Linked DNA regions of Homo sapiens: region 1 is linked to region 2. The links are contacts of gene promoters, found by promoter capture Hi-C in blood cells and fetal thymus (Javierre and others, 2016). All regions are on one chromosome and are shown on one strand. Each heading gives the region's core, a stretch centred on a gene start or on the middle of the fragment in contact. The rest is flanking DNA. Distances are from core to core; before and after follow the strand shown.

Evidence for each region. The method cuts DNA at HindIII sites, captures the fragments that hold promoters and counts their contacts. A CHiCAGO score of 5 or more calls a contact.
Region 1: a fragment that was not itself captured here is called in contact with the fragment with the promoter of SMARCA1 in region 2 in 1 of 17 cell types (monocytes); the score reaches 5.8 in monocytes.

What each region holds. Positions count from the first base shown.
Region 1 is chrX:130,216,875-130,220,737 of GRCh38, forward strand. It overlaps ZNF280C (zinc finger protein 280C), which reads right to left. Exons shown (of 19, transcript NM_017666.5): 13 at 3,475-3,606. Among named protein-coding and RNA genes, the nearest start is that of RAB33A, 47 kb to the left of the region's middle. The HindIII fragment of the contact is 5,050 bases long and covers 1-3,863 here.
Region 2 is chrX:129,521,057-129,524,837 of GRCh38, forward strand. SMARCA1 (SNF2 related chromatin remodeling ATPase 1) reads right to left here and starts at 2,434. Exons shown (of 25, transcript NM_001282874.2): 1 at 2,141-2,434. The coding sequence starts at 2,314. The HindIII fragment of the contact is 3,805 bases long and covers 1,335-3,781 here.

The DNA.
Region 1 (3,863 bases), core at 336-2,835, 690 kb after region 2:
CTGTAATCCCAGCTACTCGGGAGGCTGAGGCAGGAAAATTGCTTGAACCCAGGAGGCGGAGGTTGCAGTGTGCCAAGATCGCACCACTGCACTCCAGCCTGGGCAACACGGCAAGACTCCGTCTCAAAAACAAAACAAAACAAAAGAACAAAAAAAGAAAAACAGTTTGGCAGTTTCTTAAAATATTAAAGGTAAGAGTTACCATTTGACTCAGCCATTCTACTCAGAGGTATATACCCATGAGAAATGAAAACATACGTTCACACAAAAACCTGTACATGAATTTTTACAGCACCATTATAGCCAAAAAGAGGAAACAACCCATATGCCCACCAATAGATGAAAGGATAAAATGTAGAATATCTATACAGTGGAGTATTACTCAGCCACAAAAAAGAATGAAGTACTGAAACATGGTACAATATCAATGAACCTACAAAACATTATGCTAAGCGAAAGAAACCAGTCCCTAAAGATGGCATATTGTATGACTCAATTTATATGAAACGTCCAGAATAGGAAAATCCATAGACACTAAAAGCAGACTAAAGTTTGCACAGGTCTAATGGAGGGGAAATAGTGAATGCTAAAGGGTATGAGGTTTCTTTTGAGGGTGATAAAAATGTTTTAAAATTTATTGTAGTGATGTTTGCCCAAATCTGAATATACTAAAAACCACTGAACTGTGTACACTGTAAATGGGTAAATTGTGTGATATATGAATTATATCTCAATAACACTGTTACCAAAAAACCACTGCAATACAAAAAGTTAAAATCATTATTTTGAAAATGGCAAGTATAAACTACAATCAGATAAGCCTTCTACTTATTCTAAATGGTCATACTGATTAAATGAAATTTATCTTGATATTTACTTACTGTTGTAATATTAGTTTTATATTGATAACAGTTGTATGTTAACAGATATTAACGAATAATTAGGAGTAAAAATTAGATAAATATCAAAAGAGCACATTCCATAGCTATTTTATGCTTTGATAGAATTAAAAAGGGCTGGGTGTGGTGGCTCATGCCTGTAACCCCAGCACTTTGGGAGGCCAAGGTGGGTGGACTGCCTGAGCTCAGGAGTTTGAGACCAGCCTGGGCAACTCATCTCTACCAAAAATGCAATAAAATTAGCTGGGCATGGTGACATCCGCCTGTGGTCCCAGCTACTTGGGAGGCTGAGGTGGGAGGATCGCTTGAGCCTCGGAGGCAGAGGTTGCAGTAAGCTAAGATGGCACCACTACACTCCAACCTGGGTGACAGAGTGAGACCCCCGTCTCAAAAACAAACAAACAAAAAAACCCAACTAACTAAAAGGCTTTCACAAATAGAGAGGTCAAAATGTAATATAGAGGTCTGAAATAATAACTCTGGAAAGGCCTGCATTACCCTCTGGTAACTATAAAACAGATTTTCAGTAAATGTGACCTCTTCCTGGGGGATCAGGGGGCATGATTTCTGCTTCCAAGGTTATGGTGAGCTTATATCAATTCATCACACAGCATGGTGGTTATAATAATGCTCAGAATTTCCTTAATGGTAACATATAAAATTTATCATTTACTATTTGGAAAAAGAAAATGTTTGTATCTATTGGTTAATAATAGAAAAGTCATCCACTAACATTTTCTTTAATCATTTGATTACACTCCCCCCATGTACTTGAAGAACAGCTTCTATGAAGTCCTATGAAATATATGTGGTATAGAAAAGCACTGAAGCAGAACTTGTTAGCTTGCAAAAAGAAAATACATGTTTTGAAAGCACTAGAGTAGAAGTCAAAAGACCTGAGTTTAAGAATCTTAGTACTACCTCTTCCTAGCTACATGACCTTGAGTAAGGAATTTAGCCTCTCTGAGCCTCTTCATCTCTAATATGGGGATAATACTTGCCTTGTCTATATCACTGGATCACCACATAGGTTAAATAATAAAATGTATGGAAAGGCACACCGAACACTTAATTCTAAAGTGCTATAAGACATATAGTATCATTATTATCAATATTATCATTACTATTGGTATCTTATTAATAAGGGAAGATGTGAGAGAGGATTGTACTGCCTACATTAATATTCTGCATGTCTAATACCAACATGGAACAAATGGATTGCAGGGAAGGATGCCAGATGGTTTATCTTATGCTAGATATTCAGATAATTGTTTTATATTAATTTTGTTAATTTAAATAGCAGACATACTCGCATTCAAAAGCATGTACTCAAAGTGAAATACAAATGTTTAGGGATTATCTCACCTTGGATTATCTATCTCTTTACTGGAGAAAATATTCAAGAGCTAACTTTATGTAAAGAAGTCAGAGGGCCAGGCGTGGTGGCTCATGCCTGTAACCCCACACTCTGGGAGGCCGAGGCGGGCAGATCACTTGAGGCCAGGAGTTTGAGACCAGCCTGGCCATGTTGGCGAAACCCAGTCTCTATTAAAAATACAAACAATTAGCTGGACATCATGCTGCATGCTTGTAATCCCAACTACTTGGGAGACTGAGGCACGAGAATCACTTGAACCCGGGAGGCGGAGGCTGCAGTAAGCTGAGATCGCGCCACTGCACTCCAGCCTGAGGGATAGAGTGAGACTCTGTCTCAAAAAAAAAAAAAAAAAAAAAAAAAAAGTCAGCGAAAACATATGTATATAAGGCAAAGAAGGAGAAAGAAATTTGTAGTCTGATGTGTGCTTGCTCATGAAAAACAGCAATGCTATGCTATCCAGGAGCAAAACTTGCTTCTCTGAGAGTAGATTAGTAATACTAACTTCAACAAACCTATGGCATTCAAGGCACTGTGACAGATGCTGGGGACACAAAGATAAATTAAATATAATTCCTGATCTTAAATATCTTATAGTCTAGCAACTGAAAAAGACATACACACTGACAACTGGAATAGCTCAAAAACAGCCTACAGAACATTGAAACGACCTGCCAACTTAGTCTACAATCTAGTTGCACTAGAAATATCCCTCCAACAAACCACATCAATCAACTAAAAAAAACAATGGTTAGAAGTTTTTCTTTACAAGCATAAGAATGATAAAACCTAAAATTAAAGTCTTAATAACAATCAGAGGTCAATTTTAATATTATATTCAATAGATAAAACCAGGCAGTAGTTTGTTTCTATTATCATACAAAATGTTAAAAATACAGCATATTTAAAACTCACTTTTGGGGTGCATGGGATATTTTGATACAAGCATACAATACATAATGATCAAATCAGGGTAACGGGTATCCATCACCTCAAGTATTTATCATTTATTTGTGTTAGGGACATTCCAATTCCACTCTTTTAGTTATTTTGAAATACACAATAAATTATTGTTAATATAGTTGCCCTAGTGAGCTTTCTAACACTAGATCTTATTCCTTCTATCCATAATAAAAAAAAAAACATAAAAAAATTAATAGAATGTGCAAAAAACCACCAAAAACTCCCTCACAAACTCACTTTTGCTCCAGGAGGCAATCCTTCTAGTTCTTTAGGCTTTATAAATGTACGATGCTGCGCCTTATGTTCAGCTTTCTCCTTGCTGGTCAAAAATTGTAGTCTGCATTTTGGGCAACGATGAACTCCTTTTTTCTGTTTACAGAAAATATTAGATATAATAACTTCCACCACCACAAATCCTAGGAGCTGAAATTGCTCTTAATTCTAAAATCTAAATAAATTTACAACCAGAATTTTACCATCTCCCACCACAGACAATTCAAAGTGATCTATTATTTAAAAGTACTCCTTGTGTTAGTATTTGAGTTTCAAAAGCATTAGTTACCATATAAGGATCAAACATAAAAAGTATATAATTAGATTTTAATTGGAAAAGTTCTATACTGATT
Region 2 (3,781 bases), core at 1,184-3,683:
GGTATTTTTAGTAGAGACGGGGTTTCACCATATTGGCCAGGCTGGTTTCGAACTCCTGACCTCAAGTGATCTACCCGCCTCGGCCTCCCAAAGTGCTAGGATTACAGGCGCGAGCCACCGCGCCCGGCTGGAAAAATTATTTTTAAAAATCAACACAACACTGCAAGAGTCTGGTAGGTGGTTACTTAATTGAGAGGGAACAACCTGCGGGATTTCAGGTGCCTTTGTGTCACTGTCAAAGTACACTAACTGATGGCCATGAAGAAGAGGTTAATCTGCACTTTTAGTATGCAATTTAAAGTGTCAAGGTAGTATGTAATGTATTTCATTTTTTAAGGAAAAATTAAAAATAAAAATGGATATCCAGGAAGTTCCTGACATACAGCACCTCATTTCCCTGTCCTGGGTGGACAAATGAAGTACTGGTAGGGCAATTTCTAATGAGGCAAGAGTTGACAAATATGTAGGCATCAACTCAGTGTTTATATTATATAGCTTTTTTATTGGTCTCCCGTTTTTTCACAATACAAAATTTTATACAAAATTCAAAAATTTATACAATCTGGAAATTCGACAACCTCTCCTGCCATACAAAAGGCAGTTTGGCACTCACATTTGCCCAGTCCAGGGAATAAAAGGCACACAGACATTTCCGAATTTCACAACATTTGATTTATATTGATGCTTGGTATTACACCCACTTTTAACCAACAATATTGTCTTACTAATCCAAGTACCGCGTAGATCTTACAATGTGTATGTTTTCTACGGTTTTCATTTAGCACTACAATTGTCCTTCTGTTTAGTCAACCTTGTAATAGTAAAATATGTCACAGAAGCAACTGCTAAATTTAAAATTACTCTTCTCATTTAAGGCGAAAGGTGTTCATTTTCCTCAAAAGCTTTTCATTTGGTCGTATAGTATCATATAATGATTCAGACAAAGCCACTTGAGATCTCTAAAGCATAATTACCCACCTTTTTAAAATTGCGATATGACTACTCGTAAATAGGAAAAAATCCACACATAAACCATTAGTTATGCAATTTTATCATACATCAAAAATGCTTATGCCCCATCCTATTTTTATGTCAATTTTTCAACGTTTTATAGTTTTATTTGCATGTCTCGGGCCACACGAAATGTGCCTTATGGAGATAATACATATTTTCTGGATTGGCTTTAATATGTGTCAGAGCAGTTCCCTTACGTTAGAAGCAGCTCATCTTGGCGACGCTGAGTTTTTTAAAAATTAAAGGAGAAAAAAAAAAAAAACCTGTGTGTGTCCAGGAGCCAGCAGCGCCCACTAGGAGAGGGAGGCGGAAGCCTGGAAAGCTTGGGGCCGGATTGAGGGACCATTGGGGTGGCCCTGGAGTGAAACCCTATACCGTCGGGGGCGGGGCAGAAGAGGGTGAGGGTGCAGATGTTGGAAATTTTCCTAAGCCAGCGTCCACGGTTCCTCAGTTTGGGGGGGCGGGGGGGTACGACGCAGAGAGCTCCTTTCCTCGGGGTGACACCCCCACCTCGGCAGGCGGGGTTCAAACGAACAAGGGATGGTTTTTTTCCTGCCATCCAAAAGACCGACATTGCCAATGAAAGAAAGAAATGTCTTCCCTGTCACCCTCCACCCAGCAACCACCAGCACCTTGAAATTCAAATTACAAAAAAAGCCCCAGCAAAACCCCTTTAGCGCGAGTGTGGGATTGAAGGGCCCAGATTTCCCAGGCAGAGGCCGACGGGAAGGCGGGGGGAGAGGGAGCGAGCGAGAGGAGAGGGAGAGGCGGAGGCTTTTTCCTGCACAGCCCCATCCCCCACCCCGTTACCCGAGTTCCGGGAAGGTGGAGGGGGTCGGGGGCTGTCGAGGGGCTCCCGAGCCCCCAGGCCCCGGGAGAGCGGGCACCCCTCCACCCCGCGCCGCTCCCGCCCGCGCCCAGCCCCGCCCCCGTCCTCCAGGCGGCGAGAAGGAAAGGGGGAGGGGAGCGAACGCCAGGCGGTTCCGCCGCCGACCCCCGCACCCGCCGCCCCTAGCCCCGCAAAGCTCCGCGGGTACCTGTCGGCGCCGAAAGGTCAGGGTTTGGGCCCCTCAGAGGGGCCAGGCACAGGATTTGTCCACCACACACACACCCCCTTCCTATTTACCTCCTTCTTCTTCTCGCCCTTCTCCGTGGCCGCGGTGGCTTCGGTGGCCGCGGCGGCCGCTCCCTCCTCCTGAGAGGTGGACGGCCCGGGCTGCTCGTCCTCTATGACCACGATAGTGGCGGTCGCATCCGCGGCTGCCACGGTGGCTGCCACTGCGGCAGTGTCCTGCTCCATGCCGTGGGAGCGGGAACGAGTAGGGGGACAAGGCAGGGGACGAGGGCTCCTGGGCGGCGGCAGTGGCTGCACTGGAAAGAGCTAGATGGAGCAGGGGTGGGGAATCACTCCGCTTCCAACCCCTTCGCTCAGGCCCCCCCTTCTTTAAATAACCCTCAACCCTGCCCCACTTCCGTCCACCCACCCTACGTCATGGCCTCCCCCCGTCACTCTCCCCCCTTCCTCCACCCCCCCCCCCTCAACGATCGCGAGACTCCCCTTCCCCACCCAGAGCCCGGGCCGGCCCCGCACGACCAACTGTTGCCTGAGTGTGGGGCGCGGACAGGGGTGGAGGCGGGAACCCACAACTCGCGGCCCCCTGAAAATCTCCTTTCCCACACGCCCCCAACAGTGAGCCTGAGCTCCCCTCGCAGATGCGTGCAGAACGAATCCTCTTTCCCTTAAATCTGCTCTTTGTACCTCGGGGCGCTCTCCCCTTCTTGCACAAAGAACTTTTCCTCTGCTCCTAACTGTACTGTAGAAGGTCTTTTTCACCATTTGCAAAGCGCGGAACCCCTCTGGGACTGCCCTTTCCCGGATCCCTAAAGAGGTAGGATTAGCGGTGCTGTTTCCACCTTCCTAAATTCTGCACAAAGAGAAGCACTCCTTGAATCTCTTGATTGCAGCTGCAAACACATTCACTTACAAGGCAAAGTCTGACTCTCAAGTTTTACGTATATTTGCTCTATTTTCACCTCTGGTACCTCTCAGGTAGCCAATGTGCAGGAACACTTCTCTTACCTTCACCACTGCATTTTTAAATTCCTAGGGGACAAGGTTACCCACCGAACCTGGGGCAACATGTGGTAGGCACTCAATATTAGCAATTGAAATGAATTACTGTGATTTTTTGGCACAGGTTCTATTTGCACCTCCATTATTATTTGGTAATAATACAACACATAATATGAATGATCATGGATATAAAATCATTTCGTGATACAGAATCAATCAGTGTCCATCAGCAGGTGAATGGTTAAGGAAAATGTGGTCTGTATACACAATGGAATACTATGTAGCCATAAAAAAGAATGAAATGTCATTTGCAGCAACATAAATGAAACTGATGTTTATTATGTTGCACAAAATAAGCCAGGCACAGAAAGACAAATAACACATGTTCTCACTCATATGTGGGAGCTAAAAAGTTGATCTCATGGAGGTAGAGAGTAGAATGATAGGTACCAGAAGTCTGGGAAGGGTGTGTGGGGTTGAGGCGGATCAATGAAGAGAGGTCAGTTAATGAGTACAAATATACAGTTAGATGGAAGGAATAAGTTATAATGTTCAAAGTAGAGTAGGGTGACTCTACTGAACAAACAATGCAATGTATATTTCGAAATAGCTAGAAGAGAGGACATGAAATGTTCCCAACACATAGAAATGATAAATACTTGAGGCAATGGACACCCTAAATACCCTGTCTTG